3 separate regions of the Homo sapiens genome follow, and regions 2 and 3 are each linked to region 1. Evidence: promoter capture Hi-C in human tissues and cell types (Jung and others, 2019). All regions are on one chromosome and are shown on one strand. Each heading gives the region's core, a stretch centred on a gene start or on the middle of the fragment in contact. The rest is flanking DNA. Distances are from core to core; before and after follow the strand shown. Region 1 holds the start of YLPM1 (YLP motif containing 1). Region 2 overlaps ABCD4 (ATP binding cassette subfamily D member 4). Region 3 overlaps ZC2HC1C (zinc finger C2HC-type containing 1C).

Evidence for each region. Contacts are between HindIII fragments. The study calls those that stand out against the background at their distance.
Region 2: a contact is called between a fragment that was not itself captured here and the fragment with the promoter of YLPM1 in region 1, in 1 of the 25 tissues and cell types used here (liver).
Region 3: a fragment that was not itself captured here is called in contact with the fragment with the promoter of YLPM1 in region 1 in 2 of the 25 tissues and cell types used here (dorsolateral prefrontal cortex and lymphoblastoid cells).

What each region holds. Positions count from the first base shown.
Region 1 is chr14:74,762,038-74,764,615 of GRCh38, forward strand. YLPM1 (YLP motif containing 1) reads left to right here and starts at 1,279. Exons shown (of 21, transcript NM_019589.3): 1 at 1,279-2,325. The coding sequence starts at 1,453. RefSeq lists an enhancer at 987-1,326. The HindIII fragment of the contact is 19,465 bases long and covers 1-2,578 here.
Region 2 is chr14:74,282,759-74,285,336 of GRCh38, forward strand. ABCD4 (ATP binding cassette subfamily D member 4) reads right to left here. Exons shown (of 19, transcript NM_005050.4): 19 at 2,511-2,578. Among named protein-coding and RNA genes, the nearest start is that of ABCD4, 19 kb to the right of the region's middle. The HindIII fragment of the contact is 3,233 bases long and covers 1-2,578 here.
Region 3 is chr14:75,078,574-75,081,151 of GRCh38, forward strand. It overlaps ZC2HC1C (zinc finger C2HC-type containing 1C), which reads left to right. Exons shown (of 3, transcript NM_024643.4): 3 at 1-1,415. NEK9 (NIMA related kinase 9) reads right to left here. Exons shown (of 22, transcript NM_033116.6): 22 at 780-2,578. Among named protein-coding and RNA genes, the nearest start is that of ZC2HC1C, 10 kb to the left of the region's middle. The HindIII fragment of the contact is 7,451 bases long and covers 1-2,578 here.

The DNA of each region.
Region 1 (2,578 bases), core at 29-2,528:
CAAAAGTGTTGGGATTACAGGAGTGAGCCCCCGCGCCCTGCCTCTGCGTTTCTTTTCTGTCTATGAAATTATCCCGATTGTTCTGCTCATTGGAACACTGTTTCTGCTTTATAGAATGAGACGTTGCCCAATTCTAGAATAGCAGGTAAAAGTTAATTAAGATCTTTAAACTAAATTTGTTGTAATTTTGTCTTTTGACATGTAATTTTCTGTATATTCGTTATACTTCAATAAAAAGTTAAAAGAAACATAACTAAATTTCTATTTGAAAACAGAAGCTCTTCCTTTTGAAGGATGCCTTGCTGCTCCACTTTCCATTCACATTCACCTCCTGAGAGAGGTGAAGATCTGGGTTGCTAAGATGGAAGAAAGGTCAATTATTTGCATGTTACTCAAGTGATGCACTGACACAATATTCTCACAGTTCTCCCTCCCCCCGCCCCCCCCCACACACCCAAAAGAATTCAGTGTATTAGCTTTGCTTTTTAGTGATTCACTCAAGCTAAAGTAAGAGTTTATGTCTGGTATTACGTTGAGAGCTTTTGGAAGATTATCTTCCAGGTTGTCTTTAGACCATCTTTGTATCTGGTTTTTGCTCTCTTTGCTTTTGCTCTGAGATTCTGCAACACCGATTTATATGTGTTGAGACAGTCTAAAAAATTCCATTTCTCCCCTTCTACAATTCCTGCAGATGTTACTCACTATATGTCTGCAGGAATTGGTGTAATCTTACACTCTGCCTTGAAAACACCTTTCCATTCTTCACAGCTTTGTTCCCAGTTGAATTTCTGGGGAGAATTGAGTTAGGTCTATTCATTTAATTTGGGAGAAACTGACATCTTTACAATTTTTCCTCTTTTCACCCAGGATCATGGTAAGCCTCTCCATTATTTGAAGTCTAATTTCATCCTACTTGGATATGCTTCTTTATGACTCTGTAGCTTTCTACATATAAGTCCTACATCTTTCTTGTTAGAGTTTTTCCTAGTTGCTTTATGTTTTTTTGTTGTTGTTGCGATTGTTGCTATTGTGAATGGAACCTTTTTTTTTTTTCATTCAAAAATGAACCCGTGGAGCGATAGGATCTCTACCACCTCTTTCGGCTGTGAGACTCTATGGTTTTTCAGTTCTATGAGAACATTCTACTGGAGCCTACATTATCTGAACCCAAAGGAAGATGGCAACCACGAGTCGCCAAGTAAAGGACCGCTCTATCTCGCCTTTGTTCTCCTCTCGGTGGTTACTGCGCAGACGTAGTCGCCCAAGTCGCGTCCCCGCCTTCCCGGTCGCGGGCCCAGCTCGGGAGCGCCGGCGCACTGGCGCGCTCCGTTTACACGCTCCGGGGCCTGTAGGCGCCGCGAGTTCCGGCTGTCGCCGTCGCCGCCGCGGCTCCTGGAGGTCGGTTGCGACGAGTAACGGCGCCAGGACGAGCCCTGCGCCTTCTTTTTCGATATGTACCCGAATTGGGGCCGGTATGGCGGGAGCAGCCACTATCCGCCGCCACCGGTCCCACCGCCGCCGCCAGTGGCGCTTCCTGAGGCCTCGCCGGGGCCCGGGTACTCGAGCTCGACGACTCCCGCGGCCCCCTCCTCCTCGGGCTTCATGAGCTTCCGCGAACAGCACTTGGCGCAGCTCCAGCAGCTGCAGCAGATGCACCAGAAGCAAATGCAGTGCGTGCTTCAGCCCCACCACCTTCCTCCGCCCCCTCTGCCGCCCCCGCCAGTGATGCCGGGGGGCGGCTACGGAGACTGGCAGCCGCCACCGCCACCGATGCCCCCGCCACCCGGGCCGGCCCTCAGCTATCAGAAGCAGCAGCAGTACAAACACCAGATGCTCCACCACCAACGAGACGGGCCTCCTGGTTTGGTTCCAATGGAGCTGGAATCCCCCCCTGAATCTCCCCCTGTGCCGCCTGGGTCCTATATGCCCCCATCTCAGTCTTACATGCCCCCACCTCAGCCGCCACCCTCTTACTACCCCCCGACCTCATCTCAGCCCTACCTGCCTCCTGCTCAGCCGTCCCCTTCGCAGTCCCCACCTTCCCAATCCTACCTGGCGCCCACCCCTTCTTACTCATCCTCCTCCTCTTCCTCGCAATCCTATTTGAGCCATTCCCAGTCCTACTTGCCCTCTTCTCAGGCATCTCCTTCCCGCCCCTCCCAGGGCCATTCTAAATCCCAACTACTAGCTCCACCACCACCGTCCGCCCCCCCTGGAAATAAGACAACTGTCCAGCAAGAGCCTTTGGAGAGTGGGGCCAAAAACAAGAGTACTGAACAGCAGCAAGCCGCCCCTGAGCCAGATCCCTCTACGATGACTCCACAGGTAAGAAAGCATCTGCCTGAACCTCATCTTTCACCTAGAGGGCCCTGAATGAGCAGGCCTCAGGGCTTTAACCAGTGGTTAGTCTAATTCCAACACACAATGACTAGCTAACACTCCAAAGGATTCCGTAAGAGTCAGAGGGCTGACAGCTCAGCTTTTTAATTAGCTAGATGTGAATTACCAAAAAAACAGCGTTTGTAGATGTGTATGGATTACATACAGTGGTGGGGTGGCTCAAAAGTTACCTCTCAGA
Region 2 (2,578 bases), core at 58-2,557, 480 kb before region 1:
AACACGGTGAAACCCCATCTCTACTAAAAATACAGAAAATTAGCCAGGTGTGGTGGTGGACGCCTGTAGTCCCAGCTACTTGGGAGGCTGAGGCAGAAGAATGGCGTGAACCCGGGAGGCAGAGCTGGCAGTGAGCTGAGATTGCGCCAGTGCACTACAGCCTGTGGGACAGAGCAACTCCGTCTCAAAAAAAAAAAAAAAATTAGCTGGGCATGGTGGCACATGCCTGTAATCCCAGCTACTAAGGAGGCTGAGGCGGGAGAATTGCTTGAACCTGGGAGGCAGAGGTTGCAGTGAGCCGAGATTGCGCCATTGCACTCCAGTTTGGACAACAAGAGTGAACTCCGTCTCAAAAAAAAAAAAAAAGATGGTTTGCTTTGCAGCAGGAAATAGGACTCCCTACACACTCACGAACCATCTGGTAACATTCTGTAATAGTCTTCCATGGTTTTGTATTTGACTTGATGTTTTGGGTAATGCTAGAATGCTCGAGTTCTAGAGGCAGCTCAAGAAGACCTGCTACAGTATCACAACAGACATACGATTTTGTAAATGTTTTCCACTTGTAGTTGAGCCCAGTGTTTTCCTGCTGCTTTCTGCCTTCAGACCCACCATGTACCACATGGAACACGCGAGCTCCAGCAGAGGTGCCAGGTCCATCTTGCTCCCCACTGTAACCCTGGAACTGAGAATGGTGCCTCAGACATGGCTGGTGTGCGGCAAACCAAAGTGCCCTCACTTTCAAGAACTGCCCCATAGCCCACAGAATGCCGTGCCACTGGTTACTAACATTCCCCTACGTGGCAGGCTCAGGCTGCCTCCTGACACTTCTTTTTTTCAGAGTCCAGCTGCCGTCCAGGCTCCTGTTCCTCGATTCTCCTTGTGGTTTTTCTCATTTTTCTGGCTCCCTCTGAGCTGCTTCTAGCTAGGATTCAAGCAGGTGAGAGAAGTGAATGGCTGGAAGATTTACTTATGGGGTCAGAGCAACAGCACCTGGTGATGTGCTAGATGGACAGTAACGCCACTTGCCATCAGAGGAGATGCTAGAAAAGGCTCTGGGGAAAGCTTTTTTTTGAGACGGAGTCTCGCTCTGTCGCCCAGGCTGGAGTGCCGTGGCACAATCTCTGCTCACTGCAACCTCCGCCTCCTGGGTTCAAATGATTCTCCTGCCTCAGCCTCCCGAGTAGCTGGGACTACAGGCGCCTGCCACCACACCCGGCTAACTTTTGTATTTTTAGTAGAGATGGGGTTTTACCATATTGGCCAGGCTGGTCCTGAACTCCTGACCTTGTGATCTGCCCACCTCGGCCTCCCAAAGTGCTGGGATTACAGGCGTGAGTGGGAAAGCTTTCTTTTTTTTTGAGACAGAGTCTTGCTTTGGCACCAGGCTGGAGTGCAGTGGCACGATCTCGGCTCACTGCAACCCCCGCCTCCTGGGTTCAAGCGATTCTCCAGCCTCAGCCTCCCGAGTAGCTGGGATTACAGGCATGTGCCACCACACCCAGCTAATTTTTTTATTTTTAGTAGAGACGGGGTTTCACCATGTTGGCCAGGATGGTTTCGATCTCCTGACCTTGCAATCCACCCACCTCAGCCTCCCAAAGTGCTGGGATTACAGGCATGAGCCACTATGCCCGGCCAGGGAAAGCTCTTCTTGTTCAGTTTGGGACATGTTGGGTTTGAGCTGCCTTTACTAGACACACATTGACATGTTAAGCCAACGTGGATAGAGATGACAAAAGATGGCTTTTCTGCCTGTCCTGCAGCCCAGAACCCTCCAGAAGAGTGATGGGAAACCTATGGCTATCTTTATGTCTCATCCACATGGGTCACTGTAGATTCCTGGGTGGCCAAAATGGGTCTTAAGTTTGGGAAACTATTTGCCTGGCTGATGTACGATGCATTTAAAACAAACATTTTGTCCATAATGTACTATGAAGGACACAAGACCTGATTTTCCTCCACGCATGTTTATGTCGACTCATCTAAGAGTAGTCTCCATCTCTGACATGAGGGAGGGATAGAGGTGCAGAGTGTGCCCCTAGGAGTAGCTTTCTTGGGCAGTTTCTGTGAGGGAGAAGGCTAAGTGTTAAGAACAGAACAGCACTGGAAACCAGTTAGAGGCAGAGGAAGCAGCAAATGCAAAGACCCTGAGATAGGAATGAATTGGTCTCCAAAATAATCTGGATGCTGGGCATAGGAGCTCCTGCCTGTGGTCCCAGCTACTTGAGAGGCTGTGGTGGGAGGATCACTTGAGCCCGGGAAGTCAAGGCTGCAATAAGCTGTGATTGTGCCACTAGATTACAGCCTGGGCTACAGAGTGAGGTGTGAGACACTGTCTCAAAAATAAATAATAAAAAATAAAAATAAACAAAATAACTTGGCAGCGGCAGCAGCGTCTGTGAAAAAGGCTTAGGAGCTGAAGAAGTCAGTAAGGATAGAGTAAGTCATTTTTAAGTGGTACCAAGAAAGCGTTAAATAATCTTATATTTTACAGTGAGAAAATACAATTCTCACTCCATCTTTCTGATTTTATTAAGGAGAAAAATCTCAGTTGAGTGCCAGTCCGTCTAACTCC
Region 3 (2,578 bases), core at 29-2,528, 320 kb after region 1:
TTTAGAGGCAGCAAAATCTACCATCAAAGCAAGCTGAGACAGGCTGGTCATGGTGGCTCATTCCTATAATTCCAGCACTTTGGGAGGCTGAAGTGGGAGGATTGCTTGAGGCCAGGAGTTCAAGAGCGGCCTCGACAACAAAGCAAGACCCCATCTCAAAACAAAACAAAGCTGGGACACTGCACAGTGTCACATGCCCTTGGCAATTATAGCATAGTCAACTTCTATTTCAGAGAGTAAACTTTGAAGGGAAAGGGATCAAATCTTTTTAATTTTCTCTGTGTAGAATATTGCCTAGCACAAGTTAGACCTTCAATTAGTGAGGTCTGGAGATTTAAAATTAAACAAGAAGATGAGTGAGTCCTACACTAGTGAAATCAGAGAACTGATAAGTTAATGTCTGCGAGAGTATTATCAGTTCAGATAGGAGTGAAGTTAGCACAACAGATAGAAATCTTAGGATTACTGTTCTGTATTACTCAAATTGTTAGTTTAAAATACTGGAGAAAAACTGCTCAATTTGAGCTAGTCAACAGGGCTAGACAGACAACAAAATCCTATTTTACTAAGTAACAAATGGCCACTCACTCTTGCTCCATTTCCACTGCACTCCAGCCTGGTGACCTAGTGAGACTCCATCTCAAAAAAAAAAAAAAAAAAAAGAAAAAAAAATTGGGCTAACAGATCAGACCAATTTGAAATGTGAGTTAAGGCTTTAGCGGTGAAGCTGCAGGACACAGGCTGGGAAAAAATCCTATATATTTAAATAGGAGCACACATTTCTTTGCACTCTTTTTAATTGTTCCAAAGGAAAGGAGGTATCACATAATAAAGCTTTATGGTTAGCCCCTTAAGGAAACCTCACACAGAGATAATGGATATTTAACCTAATAGGTACATTCCCTAGGCAAGTTCAATGAAATGTACACTTTAAGTGGGAATGTAAACCAGTACATTGCAATAGATGGCAAGAGTAAGCTGTGGCCAAGGTCACAAAATGGCAACATGTGGATTGCTTTGCTCCACAGATGTTTTATTTCGCTGGCCTAGCATTCATAATATGATCTGACATTTAAAAACTGGGATATGGAACATCTCTTGAAAAACTGGAAGTTCTGGAAACACTGGGCCAGCAACCCGCATGGCACAAATTGGGTGGGGTTTAGAATCAGATGCTCCTCCAGATGGGAATGGTAGCACCAGACCACTGCAGTCTCACTTGGCCTGCTTCACTTCTTTACCTTATCTGCCTGGTACCACAGGCACTTGGATTTGGGATCGCTGGATGTTAGTAAGGTCATAGATCCGGGCCCTCCAGAGAGAACAAATTGTTGTTATATGTGGGGAGTGCTTTCTAAAAAGGAAGCAGTTGTTTGCTCTCATTTTGCTAAAGAAATAAAACAATAGTCAATGCCTTAAGTGTTCCCTTTAATCTCTACATGTTTAGGCCTTGGTTATATTAGAAATATCTTTCAAGGCCGAGCATGGTGGCTCATGCCTGTAATCCCAGCACTTTGGGAGGCCGAGGTGGGCGGATCACAAAGTCAAGAGATCGAGACCATCCTGGCCAACATGGTGAAACCCCGTCTCTACTAAAAATACAAAAATTAGCTGGGCGTGGTGGCGCACACCTGTAGTCCCAACTACTCGGGAGGCTGAGGCAGGAGAATTGCTTGAACCCAGGAGGCAGAGGTTGCAGTGAGCTGAGATCGCGCCACTGCACTCCAGCCTGGTGACCTAGTAAGAATCCATCTCAAAAAAAAAAAAAGAAAAAAAAAAAAGAAATATCTTTCATCTTTTAAATTTATCTTGATCTGGTCTCTGGGAAGAGATAAGAACCTTTTTTTAAAAAAATCTGAATTTCTTCCTGGATAGCTCAGACGATGACAGTAAATGCATGCTGCTTCTTAATGTCTGTATTTTATACAACTTTATCCAAGAAATGTTTAGTGCAAGTAAACATTATAAAGTTCATAAGGTTACACCATAGGAGAAATTTCACGGGGAAACTCCTCATGTGGAAACTCATTTCATTAAAAATGTATGCAGATGTGCCGAGACAGTATTTCTTTTTTTTTTTTTTTGAGACGGAGTCTCGCTCTTGTCACCCAGGCTGGAGTGCAGTGGAGTGATCTTGGCCCACTGCAAGCTCCGCCTCCCGGGTTCACGCCATTCTTCTGCCCCAGCCTCCCGAGTAGCTGGGACTACAGGCGCCCACCACCACGCCCGGCTGATTTTTTGTATTTTTAGTAGAGATGGGGTTTCACTGTGTTAGCCAGGATGGTCTTGAACTCCTGACCTGCCCACCTCGGCCTCCCAAAGTGCTGGGATTACAGGCGTGAGCCACCGCGCCTGTCCTGCCAAGACAGTATTTTTTTTTTTATTTTTGAGATGGAGTCTCACTCTGTCGCCCAGGCTGGAGTACCGTGGCGCAATCTCAGCTCACTGCAAACTCCGCCTCCTGGGTTCACGCCATTCTCCTGCCTCAGCCTCCAGAGTAGCTGGGACTACAGGCACCTGCCACAACACCCAGCTAATTTTTTTGTATTTTTAGTAGAGACGGGATTTCACTGTGTTA